3 separate regions of the Homo sapiens genome follow, and all the other regions are linked to region 1. The links are contacts of gene promoters, found by promoter capture Hi-C in blood cells and fetal thymus (Javierre and others, 2016). All regions are on one chromosome and are shown on one strand. The core of a region is centred on a gene start or on the middle of the fragment in contact, and the rest is flanking DNA. Distances in the headings are between cores, read along the strand shown.

Region 1 (3,799 bases), core at 411-2,910:
TTAAATCAATCCACTCTTTCAAGCTATTACCGTATTTATAAGTATTACTCTCTAGACCGACCTAAGGCTTGACACCTTTCTCTGCTCTTTCACCCCCTCTGCTGGTAGAGTGCCAAGAAGCAGGTCTCAGATCAAGACACCAGCAGTACCAATGAGGAGATAAAGTGAGGCAGATATTTTATGCAGCTGTGCTTCTCAAATTTTAATATGAACACAGATTTCCTTAGGATTTTGTTAAAATACAGATTCTGATAGGCACGAGATTCTGCATTTCTAGCAAGCTCCCAGATGATGCTGGTCCTTAGACCACACTTTGCAAAGCAAGGCTTTCTAGCACCCAATAATCACCAGCACAAAAACCCCTCAATGATGTCTTCCAGTCTGACTTGAAAGTGATCTCTGTGGCCTTCAAGTAGCTCTACATTCAAACGTTGGTCTCATGCACAAATTGAACAGTTAAGTTCATTTGGAATATTTCTCCAGTTGCCTCAATGATTTACCTCCATACAAGTCATCAGTGACATCATGCGGTTGGTTATATTAGAATATTGGAATCTAGTTAGGAAATGTTGTGATGAGTTTGCAATATGGAATAAAATTTTTATTTTAGAAAAGACATTTACCAACCCCTCTCATTTTACAAATAAGGAGGCAGAGACACAAAGAGAATGCGTGACTTGACCAAGGTCACACAGCTGGTCAATAACAGCAAAACTAAAATCAAATTATGCCAACACTACTTCTTATGCTGTCTTTCCAGATTATTTACCATTTTTCTATTTCTCTACAGTGACCAGAATCATTTCTGCTAAATGTCACAGATCATTAAAGCCTGTGTGTCCAGTCACAAAACTCAGGAAACGTGAAAATATGCATCTCATCTCAACAGTTTTCCTCATATCTCATTCTTTTGTAACTTAGTACCCCACTCTCTTATCAGTAAAATTAGATTTTAAATATATATTAGAAGGAAAAAAATACCAGATAATTTCCTGTTAGCATCAGCTATCTTGGATGTTTAATCTTCATTTTGCTCCATCCTTTCTGCCTGAATTCCATTTATTAAAACAGAACACATAGGGGTTTAATCAATATCCTTAAATTTTCCACAAACATAACATAAATAAACTCCACGTTGTGAGGAAGAGAGGATTTTTAATACATATGTGTTGAATGAATGATCATTATTTAGATAAATGAATGACTGAAGTGATTGTTATATTCAGGTAAATTCATCATGGCTAGGTAGCAAACCAAAGACTTGTAAGAACCTCAAATGAGGACATGCACAAAACAGGGATGGCCATGGGCTACGTAATTTCAAGGTCTTTTGTCTTCAACGTCAAAATTCACTTTAGAGAACTTAAGTGATTTTCATGCGTGATTGAAAGTAGAAGGTGGATTTCCAAGCTGCTCTCTCCATTCCCAACCAAAAAAAAAAAAAAAAGATACAAGAGTGCATAAAAAGTTTCCAGGTCTCTAAGGTCTCTCACCCAATATAAGCATAGAATGCAGATGAGCAAAGTGAGTGGGAGAGGGAAGTCATTTGTAACAAAAACTCATTATTTACAGATGAGAAATTTATATTGTCAGCGTAATATCTGTGAGGCTAAACAGAGCTGGAGAGTATATAAAAGCAGTGCGCCTTGGTGCAGAAGTACAGAGCTTAGGACACAGAGCACATCAAAAGTTCCCAAAGAGGGCTTGCTCTCTCTTCACCTGCTCTGTTCTACAGCACACTACCAGAAGGTAAGATGATTATAAAATTGTAAATCCTGTTTGGCGGACAGTGAAGTATTTTTAAGGGATCAAAATATTATAAATTAAAATGTTGTTCTTTCATCTTAGACTTTATTACTAATAGTACACAGAGAGGAACTGAGATGGAAAAGGTTATATCAAATGCATTTACGTGTACTTTAATATAGCGAAGCCGCAAAGCGAGTTGGAAAAATAATTATATGCAAAAATATAAAACAGAAAAAAAACAAAGATTCAAATCAATGCACTTGTTATAATACTTAACTGTTATGAGAGTTGTATTTTAAAATAATTGGTAACATTTTGAAGAATAAATATTTTTCTTGGACTTGATAGATCTGTATACTACTTTGAACAGAAGGCGTCTTTTAAAGTAAGCAGAAATGTGTCCATTAGGGAGCCTATAACAGAAATTGCTTTTTACCAATTAAAATCTCTGGTTTTCCAAAAGAGCAAATTAAATAACATCTTTCAAATATTCAAATTTCAGACATCTATCAAAAAATCAAAGTCCATTAAAGCAACTCTTTGTAAATAAAACATAGCGTACTTGGTGCAGAGAACAAGTGTCATCTATTTGGGGGGTTTTCTTTGGATGCATCTGAGTGAAGCCATACATTAATAACTATTTACTATGTATTGAGGATAAATAGTAATAAAATCTAAAATAGCTACCCTCTGCAATAAAATTTTAATTTGTCTTTTTAGATTAGGCTCCTAGAGACAAAAAACAAATTTACAAAGATCTTTGATGGAGTAAATGATTAAGTGGTGTATTTTTCCATACATACTGAAGACCTATTACATAAAATGAGCTAACCAGTTTGAAAAAGGATTTATATGGACTACAATGCCAACACATTTGGGGATAGAACATAATGTCTTCTTTTTTAGGTCTAAGGTTAATCTTTCTGTAAGACTTCCTACTTATTATTGTTACCATACTTTCCTTTAAATTTTAGTGGAAATTTGTAGTTCTTACAAAACTGCAGGCTCTCTTTAGACTACCTAAAGAGGGGGGAAATTAACTGGAAATTATTTTCTTATTGAATAAGATTTTAATACTAAAATAACATAAATCTCTACTTTCTCAGCAATTGTATTCAAACAATTAACTCTATTCTTTTTTTTTTCACAATTCGATAGACTTTCACAAACAAATAAGTGAGATTTTTAAAGCCAGTTCTTTCTTCAGAAGAAGTCATTTATTGTTGGTAATATTATTAGATACGGAACGCTCACTTCTTTATGTGGTTTATGGTTGTTCTTTCTTCCATCAGCTCCTGAAGTGGCAGGATACCTCCTGCTCTAAATCCTCCTCAATGGAACATAATAGGAGATATTGCAAAACGCTTAGGACTTTGGGTGGAATGAATTTTTTTTTCAGTCTTGTGAAAGACTAAAAGCTTTTACAAGAAACTTTTCAACAGTGGTATAATTTTTAAAAGAAGTGCTTACTTTAATATTTAAATATTCCTGCAAGCACGGATATAACAATTGAGAGTTATAATCAGTAGATACTACCTAAATATATGGCAAGGTTTCCAAAGTCTGCCAACCGGTTAAACTGAAGCATAGCAAAATGTCAAATTGGTAATTTGATGTTGATGAATGAAGAAAGGTGAATATATCATTCCTATTATGTTCCTTTGTCTAATCATCCATTCAATGTACAAAAAACTTAATATTTCAAAGAAAAAAGTTACTGCTGCAGGTATTACAGTGTCTATGTTTTAGTGCCAGAGATAGTAAATACAGCTAATATATTAAGGAAAAGATTGATAGTTTAAAAATGATAATATTTGTGAAATCCTTATTCCAAACCAAATGTCATTTGCTAAAAATATTCATTCAAATTATTTGTGGATAAGCATAGTCAAACTTGGATTGAAATGCCCGCTTCTCAAAGGAAACACCATTGGGTTTCAAAGTAGCCGAGATCCATGACAAAGACGGACTTGACGTTCCCATTCAGAAAATAGAAGCGCTTGCTCTGTGGGGACATTCTGTCCCACATTCATGTTGGTCCCAGTCCCCG
Region 2 (3,799 bases), core at 870-3,369, 120 kb before region 1:
TAATGCAATATGTGTTTTCTAAGTTACCTTTAACATACAAGGTTTATATAATTCATTAACTTTACTTTTGTTAACCTTTTAAGTTGGAGATTCCAGCAGAGGTAACAGGGTGTTGGTGTGGGTGTGGCTTGATGGCAGGCTTAAAAGAGAAGCTGACAAAAATAAATGTACAGACAAGTGATGGGACACTAACCTGTTACTTTGTCTAAACAAAGATGAATCAGATTTATTATAACCTAGAAATTATTCTAACAAAGATAATGTTATTCCTTTAACAATAAGAATACATAAGAATAAGTGTGTACTTTATTTTTAGGATCCATTTAAAGAGAAACTTCTAGAAATAATGACAAGGATTCAAACTTATTGTCAAATGAGTCCAATGTCAGATTTTGGAACTCAACCCTATGAACAATGGGCCATTCAAATGGAAAAAAAAGGTAATTTAGGTTTGGACCTAACACTTAGTTTATCCCATGTTTATACCAAGATTTTAGATGACTATATCACAGATTCCCCAAAAAATGGAAAGCAAAAGTAGTTCCAAATAGAATTTCTGTGTTCTCTGTAGGACAAGCATAATAAACATGTTCTAATTCCTTTTCTAAGGAGAGAGATTCCAATGCTATCCAATTTTCTCTTTGTCTCCAGAGTCTTGAGATAAACTTTAATAGCTCTGTCTCCAAAGGCAAACTCAACTAATATATTTTCATGCCATTTCTCTGTGCATCAGCTACATGTTTTTGCTGAGGCAGAACTCAAGCAGCAAGTCTAGGAGTTGGAAAACTTGCCCTGTTTCAGAGCTCAGGACACATTTTGAGCCTTAACTTGCCCATTTTAAAACCAAGGTGAAGCCAGTTTTGCAGTTAGTAACATATATTCAAGTCCATGGCACAATTTTAGGGGGTTTATATGCTTATTATTTCACTTACATAATATATTTTTTCACAGCTGCAAAAGAAGGAAATCGCAAAGAACGTGTTTGTGCAGAACATTTGAGGAAGTACAATGAGGCCCTACAAATTAATGACACAATTCGAATGATAGATGCGTATACTCATCTTGAAACTTTCTATAATGAAGAGAAAGATAAGAAGTTTGCAGTCATAGAAGATGATAGTGATGAGGGTGGTGATGATGAGTATTGTGATGGTGATGAAGATGAGGATGATTTAAAGAAACCTTTGAAACTGGATGAAACAGATAGATTTCTCATGACTTTATTTTTTGGTAAGATTCAAAGTAACATATACTGGTGTCATTCATTTACCTTTTCAACATGAACTTACTGCTTCTCATAAGCTCTCCAAAAAGAGAAATATCTTTTGAAAGAAGAAATCCCACTCAGATTGGAACTATTTCTAATGATATGACCAGATTAGCTACCAGTTGTATGATCACAGTCAGTCATTTGGTCATTCAGTTTTATTGTCAAGACAATTGTAATGAATTTATTTATTAAACCATCCTAATTATTAGATATAGCGCAAGATTGTAGATGAGCCACAATTCATGAAACCTTCTAGTGTAATTCGTTGTATGTTTTACTAATTTATACTTCCAAATAGTTTTTAAATTAATTAATTTTTAATCAATAAAACTGTATATTTTTGGTGTACAAAATGTTTGATATATCTGTACATTGTGGAGTGGCTAAATCAAGCTTGTTAACATATCAACTCTAATTATTTCTTAAAGAAAACAATAAAATGTTGAAAAGGCTGGCTGAAAACCCAGAATATGAAAATGAAAAGCTGACCAAATTAAGAAATACCATAATGGAGCAATATACTAGGACTGAGGAATCAGCACGAGGAATAATCTTTACAAAAACACGACAGAGTGCATATGCGCTTTCCCAGTGGATTACTGAAAATGAAAAATTTGCTGAAGTAGGAGTCAAAGCCCACCATCTGATTGGAGCTGGACACAGCAGTGAGTTCAAACCCATGACACAGGTATAAATATCCTTTTGGACGACTTCTTTTCTTTTCTTTCTCTTTTCTTCTTCTCTTCTCTTCTTCTCTTCTTCTTTTCTTTCAGACGAGGCCTCGCTCTGTCACTCAGGCTGAAGAGCAGTGGCATGATCAAGATTCACTGCACCCTTGACCTCCTAGGCTCAAGCAATCCTCCAGCCCCAGCCTCCTGAGCAGCTGGGACTCTAGGTGTGCACCACCACACCCAACTAATTTTTTTATCTTTTTTGTAGAAAAGGTGTCCCACTATGTTGTCCTGGCTTGTCTTAAACTCCTGGGCTCAAGCCATCCTTCTGCCTCTGCCTTCCAAAGTATTGAGATTATAGGCACGAGCCACTGCGCTCAGCCTGGACTTCTTTTCTTATGCTGTTATTACTCTTCTCAAATTGTTTTTAGTCTTTTTCTACCAATCCTCTCACCACCCATGAATACATTTACAGGATAAAACACCTGTTCTTGAAATAAAATCTAAGGCTAATAGCAATCAAATCTGTGGTTTTTGAGAGGTTAAGTGTTGTTTTAGGAGTCATTTTTCCCACATAATAATTGGAAGAACTTTCTAAGTTTCCCTTGCAAAAATAAGTGACATGTAAGCTTAACAACAAAGTTCAGAAATGATTGCCATGTAGTATCAAGTGGAAAATTCAAACTCCCACAAAAATGTGTTCGTTATAACTAGAACTATGCAAAATATATTTACATAGAATGAGACCTCTAGGGAAACTTGAAAAAACTAAAGAATTTGATATATTAGAGATTTGGGATTCTGGTAAGTAGGTTTTCTGTTCCATTTTAAGGTGTTTTGTTTTACTTTGTTTACATGTTGCTTACTGTGGGCATAGTAAAAAAACACTTGGGTAAGAAAAAAAGGCACTAGTAGACATTACAAGCATGCATGAAGCAATGATGCCTTGTTAGAGTAAAATATTCTTCTGAGGGCTAAAATCACATTGACCCTGAGTCTTTCTGGACAAATGGATACTTCCTTTCTATTATAGTTATCACTATTCAAGCCAATGGAGCAAATTAATTCTGTTTCAGTGTTTGCTGGAAAAAAATTCTTGAAATGGTTCACTATAACTCTTTATATACCCTCTACATGCACTCCTGTGAGCATTGCCAATAAAATTAATGCCAGAGAAAGTACTGTTTTCCTTGGGTAACAAGTTTGCTTCCTTCTTTTTGATGAGATGTAGTTTGCTTTATATGTTTTTCTTTTTGCCTTAGCTTCCAGAAAGCTAGCAGGAAAAACTCAAGTTCAGTCTCACAGCCTCTGTGTTGATTCTTATGAGTTCTGTTTTTAAATTTCTATTATATTAACTTTAGCGTTGTGACTTTTATTGTAAGAGGGCTAAGCTTCTCTGTAAAAAGAGGTAGAGTGCAAATGAAAAGCCTATGTTCAAGCTACTTTCTGCTCCTTATTCATTTCAAACCAAGGGGCTGTGTGCCAAAATACAGAACATATTCCCTTCCTTCCCCACTCCTTGTATCCTCACCTTGTAAACTGGGGTGGACAAACTCCTTAGCAATGGTGTTAGGCATCTATGTGATGTGACTTGAAGATCTGACACTGTCTGGAATTTTTGTTATTAAAGTTACTCCTTCAAATTAAGACACAGGCATCTTCTGCTAAAATCCAAGAACATGTAAGTTTTTATCGGGAGATGTGAGGGCCGGAGGGAGAAATTTTCAGAGAAGACTCAAGAGAGGCCTTTCTACAGGGTTCTCCGACAGTTAGGAGTAGGAGTCAAATAAGGACTCACACTGCCTCTGAGAAGAAAGGGAAGGGGATGGAAGAACATACTTTTGGTCTGGCAGCTTTA
Region 3 (3,799 bases), core at 720-3,219, 91 kb before region 1:
CTCATTTTTCTTAAAACAGTTCAAACTAGTAAGAATTTTCCAGAAGTTACAGCTTGACTCACCCAACCTTCCAAGGAAAAAACAAAAAAACTTAAACAGACATTGTTTCACTCTCATCATTTCCCACCCTTACTAATAGTGGCAACTTAAGTGTATCTTAAAGCACTCCAACCTCTTCATAGAGCCTATTAAATGAGTATCTTGTGGACACCCACACACAGTCATAGAATCCTAAGTGGTGCTCAGACCAGTCACATGTCAGTGCATTCTTAATTGCTAGAGCTAACATGCTCTCAGCATGGTCTTTTAATTACACCCTAATAATTTATTATAGTTTCTCTCTACAATGTAAAGTCTTGGAAATCACCCACTAAAAAGTGCCTGTGTACTCTGGGGCTTTGGCAGGCTAGGGCAGAACTTCTGAGAACACGGTGTGTTCCAGAGAAGACAATCAATCTGAGAGGACTTACACAGAAACAGTTCATTCAGGACCTGGCTGCTGGCTTTTATCTGAGATCTGAGGATTTCACAATCACTTGGAGATACCTACAAGTGTATAGCACACCTTGGATATTACTCTTAATGATTACTTCATTTTGTAAAGAGGTGACTCCACCAACAGCAAAGGAGAGGGCCCAGCCCCAGCCACCAGGAATACAGTTCTCTGCCAGTAAGTGCCTAATGACTCATTTTCCTCAACAGAATTTTCATAAGGCTGGAATTCAGGGAGGGATGTCTGGAGAATGTCTGAAAGGAAGTTCACAAGCCACTGTCCTGCTCTTTGCTGGAGAAAGTGTCCCGTGGTAGCCAGAGAAGTTGACTAAGGCAAACAGCAACATGTTTTGGTAACATTTCCCCATTACCTTTCATGTACAATCCAAGAAAGGTTGCCATGAAGTGTTTTAATCAGGTTGGGAACATTATAAACTTCGAAAAAAGAAAACCATTAGTGGAAAAATTAAGGACACAGTAGATTTAACAACTGTGTTTACGTGGAACCACAAAATCTATCCAAGTGAATTGCATTAAAACAGACAGAACACTCCAAGAAACTGTTGTATGTGTATTTTTTTTAATTCAGTCAACCATTTTACTAATCTGTCAAGATGACCAATTTCTTTGGAATTATGTAGATTTAGCCAAAATGAAATTATACATAAGATTTACTTTTCTTTTCAGATGCTTTTTTATTTATTTTTAAATCTTTATAATTACTAGATGTTCTCCTCTCTCAGAAGATATTCTGAGAGGAAAGCAAAAATACCACTCTTGTAAAGCCATTTCCATTCTTCCAAAGGTCTGCTGGTAAATTATTCTTACTGATCTTTCCATCTTTCTAGCCTGTGCATACACACCTAACCCATACTAAATTTCACCAGATGGCATTTTATTTCTTTAAAGTAAAGCAGCCGTGGGTTTAGACAGTTGAATTTTTAAACTTCTGTATTTACTGAAAGTGCATATGGTGCTATATGGACAAAGAAATTGTGCTGAAAGAAAAACATTTCTGTCTGCAATACCTCATAATCTTCCAGAGGAAAAAAAAGTGCAGTTATATGGCACATTTCTCACAAAATCTTATGTGGCTTCAATGTTCTTCCTCTGTTAAAAAGTAGATATATGTTTAATGTACAGACCTGCAAGTTTCATTATTTTAAATTCATCTTTTAGTGGCAAATAAAAATGTTATGCAAAACCCAATGACTTGCTAAAGTGATCCTTCAGTGAATTCTAGAAGAAAATGCAACATAAACCTGAACTGGTAAAAAAGAAAAAATAAAAACCTCTGTATGTCAACGTAAGCAGATGTTGGTGTAGTTACAAGGATGAGAAGGCTATAAAACTTCCCTTGAGTCACTCACAGTTCATTTGAGGGCCAAGAACGCCCCCAAAATCTGTTTCTAATTTTACAGAAATCTTTTGAAACTTGGCACGGTATTCAAAAGTCCGTGGAAAGAAAAAAACCTTGTCCTGGCTTCAGCTTCCAACTACAAAGACAGACTTGGTCCTTTTCAACGGTTTTCACAGATCCAGTGACCCACGCTCTGAAGACAGAATTAGCTAACTTTCAAAAACATCTGGAAAAATGAAGGTTAGTATAAGCAACCTCAAGTATTCTTAAAAAATTAGGGTTGGCTGGATTGAACGTGATCAGAGTTTTCTATTGTTTAGAAGGTGAAGATTTGTACATAAGTATTTACTTCCTCAATGGGTTGGGATTGGAAAATTGTTCTAAATATACTGTAGAAACATTTGTCCTTGCAGAGCTGGAAGAATTCCAGCAATTATAGCCGGATCAGTGGAAAACAATCAAAAGCTTTGTGGGGCGAGAGAAAAAGGATTTAGGTGTAAACAAAATCTTGCCATTTCTACTATTTAGCAGGAACTGTGTGTATGCCTAATTCTCTTTATTTTATGTAGACTTGGGTAAAAATCGTATTTGGAGTTGCCACCTCTGCTGTGCTTGCCTTATTGGTGATGTGCATTGTCTTACGCCCTTCAAGAGGTAAGAACTTTCTCTGATTTGCTCTATCTGCCTAGAATAGCTTGGAAAATGTACTAATGCAAGATCACAAGTGGTTGAACATTTCCTAAGTGCTTATGTTCCAAAGTAAGTCTGTTATTTCTAAGAAGACATATAAGCTCACAGATATGTTGTTGTGCAAGACCAGAAATACTGAGGAATTTAAGGCATGGGTAGGAAGAGATTTACAGTGTTATTTCAGCAATAGAAAAACCTAAGAACTATGCTGCATCACCCCCACAACCCCCAAAAATATATGCTAAATACAAGCTTTGACAGGCCTTTAGAAACAACATTTTTAACTAACATTGCTTTTCATTATTAGGTTTGTCTCGTGGAAAGTAAAAATGAGTAAGAATGGAAAAGTTAAAACAGAATCTATGGACTTTTTTTATTACTAAATAGTCTTTCCAAAAATTTAGGGAGGAAGTTGAGAATACAGATCTCAGGAATAGCTGTATAGAAAAAGCAAAGTTGTTGTTTTAGATGTAGTAGCACTGCACATCAAATTAGAAAACCAAACATTGTTAAGCAAGCATTTTGATCAGTCATAAATTGGATCCTTTTACAAAAAAGGCTTAGATTGACACTGATCTCACTTTGCTAAAAATTGGAAGGTACTATGGGCTGATATCAGAGCTAGTTTAAATATAAAGTAGGACTATGTTGATAGATAATCTAGTGATATTAGGGAAATAGCTTTTTATGAAAATATTTATGAAGAGAAACTCAAGCTTCTGAAATGGAAAAAAAATCCAGTAATAACAGGTCTTATGTCTTTGTGTCTAGGAAAGGGGAAAAATTTGTACTAATAAATACTAAAAGTTTATGATAACAAATGTGGGAAATATCTTGGTTAAAAGTTAACTGATAGTAAATGAAGATCAATAAAATAACTTCAGCTAAAGAATGTATGAGTCCTGAATGACTGGACTGTTGCTATTAAAAAGAACATAGAAAAATGTTTTCGAAAATTAAAAATAATCATGAGATTTTCACAGAATTACAAAATAGAATAGGTTAACCCATAAGATGAAGTCAGCTGATATCTTCAGTGTTAATTTCAGTCTTTGTTTCTGCTCTCTGCCAGCACAAGATTCTTCTTAGGCTGTTGAGAGGTATGTAGTGTGTGTACATATCTTTCATAAATTTTCATGTTAAAATTGTTTTCAGACTCATCTCTGAACTCAGTGGTCTTGGGGCCACATTTCCCTCATACCAGCAATTGTCAGGTAGTGGATTAGGTCATATAGATCCTTTGAATGTTAATTCATT

The links. Contacts are between HindIII fragments. The CHiCAGO score rates a contact against its expected background, and 5 or more counts as called.
Region 2: a fragment that was not itself captured here is called in contact with the fragment with the promoter of GCG in region 1 in 1 of 17 cell types (megakaryocytes); the score reaches 6.1 in megakaryocytes.
Region 3: a contact is called between the fragment with the promoter of FAP here and the fragment with the promoter of GCG in region 1, in 1 of 17 cell types (megakaryocytes). The highest score is 5.1, in megakaryocytes.

What each region holds. Positions count from the first base shown.
Region 1 is chr2:162,150,108-162,153,906 of GRCh38, reverse strand. It overlaps GCG (glucagon), which reads left to right and starts at 1,660. Exons shown (of 6, transcript NM_002054.5): 1 at 1,660-1,749. The region is part of intron 1 of LOC101929532 (a long non-coding RNA gene); the gene reads right to left. RefSeq lists a promoter at 51-1,772. The HindIII fragment of the contact is 4,864 bases long and covers 1-3,169 here.
Region 2 is chr2:162,274,846-162,278,644 of GRCh38, reverse strand. IFIH1 (interferon induced with helicase C domain 1) reads left to right here. Exons shown (of 16, transcript NM_022168.4): 9 at 317-440; 10 at 952-1,230; 11 at 1,699-1,958. Among named protein-coding and RNA genes, the nearest start is that of FAP, 33 kb to the right of the region's middle. The HindIII fragment of the contact is 907 bases long and covers 1,666-2,572 here.
Region 3 is chr2:162,241,615-162,245,413 of GRCh38, reverse strand. FAP (fibroblast activation protein alpha) reads left to right here and starts at 1,969. Exons shown (of 26, transcript NM_004460.5): 1 at 1,969-2,092; 2 at 2,422-2,506. The coding sequence starts at 2,087. The HindIII fragment of the contact is 18,804 bases long and covers 1-2,319 here.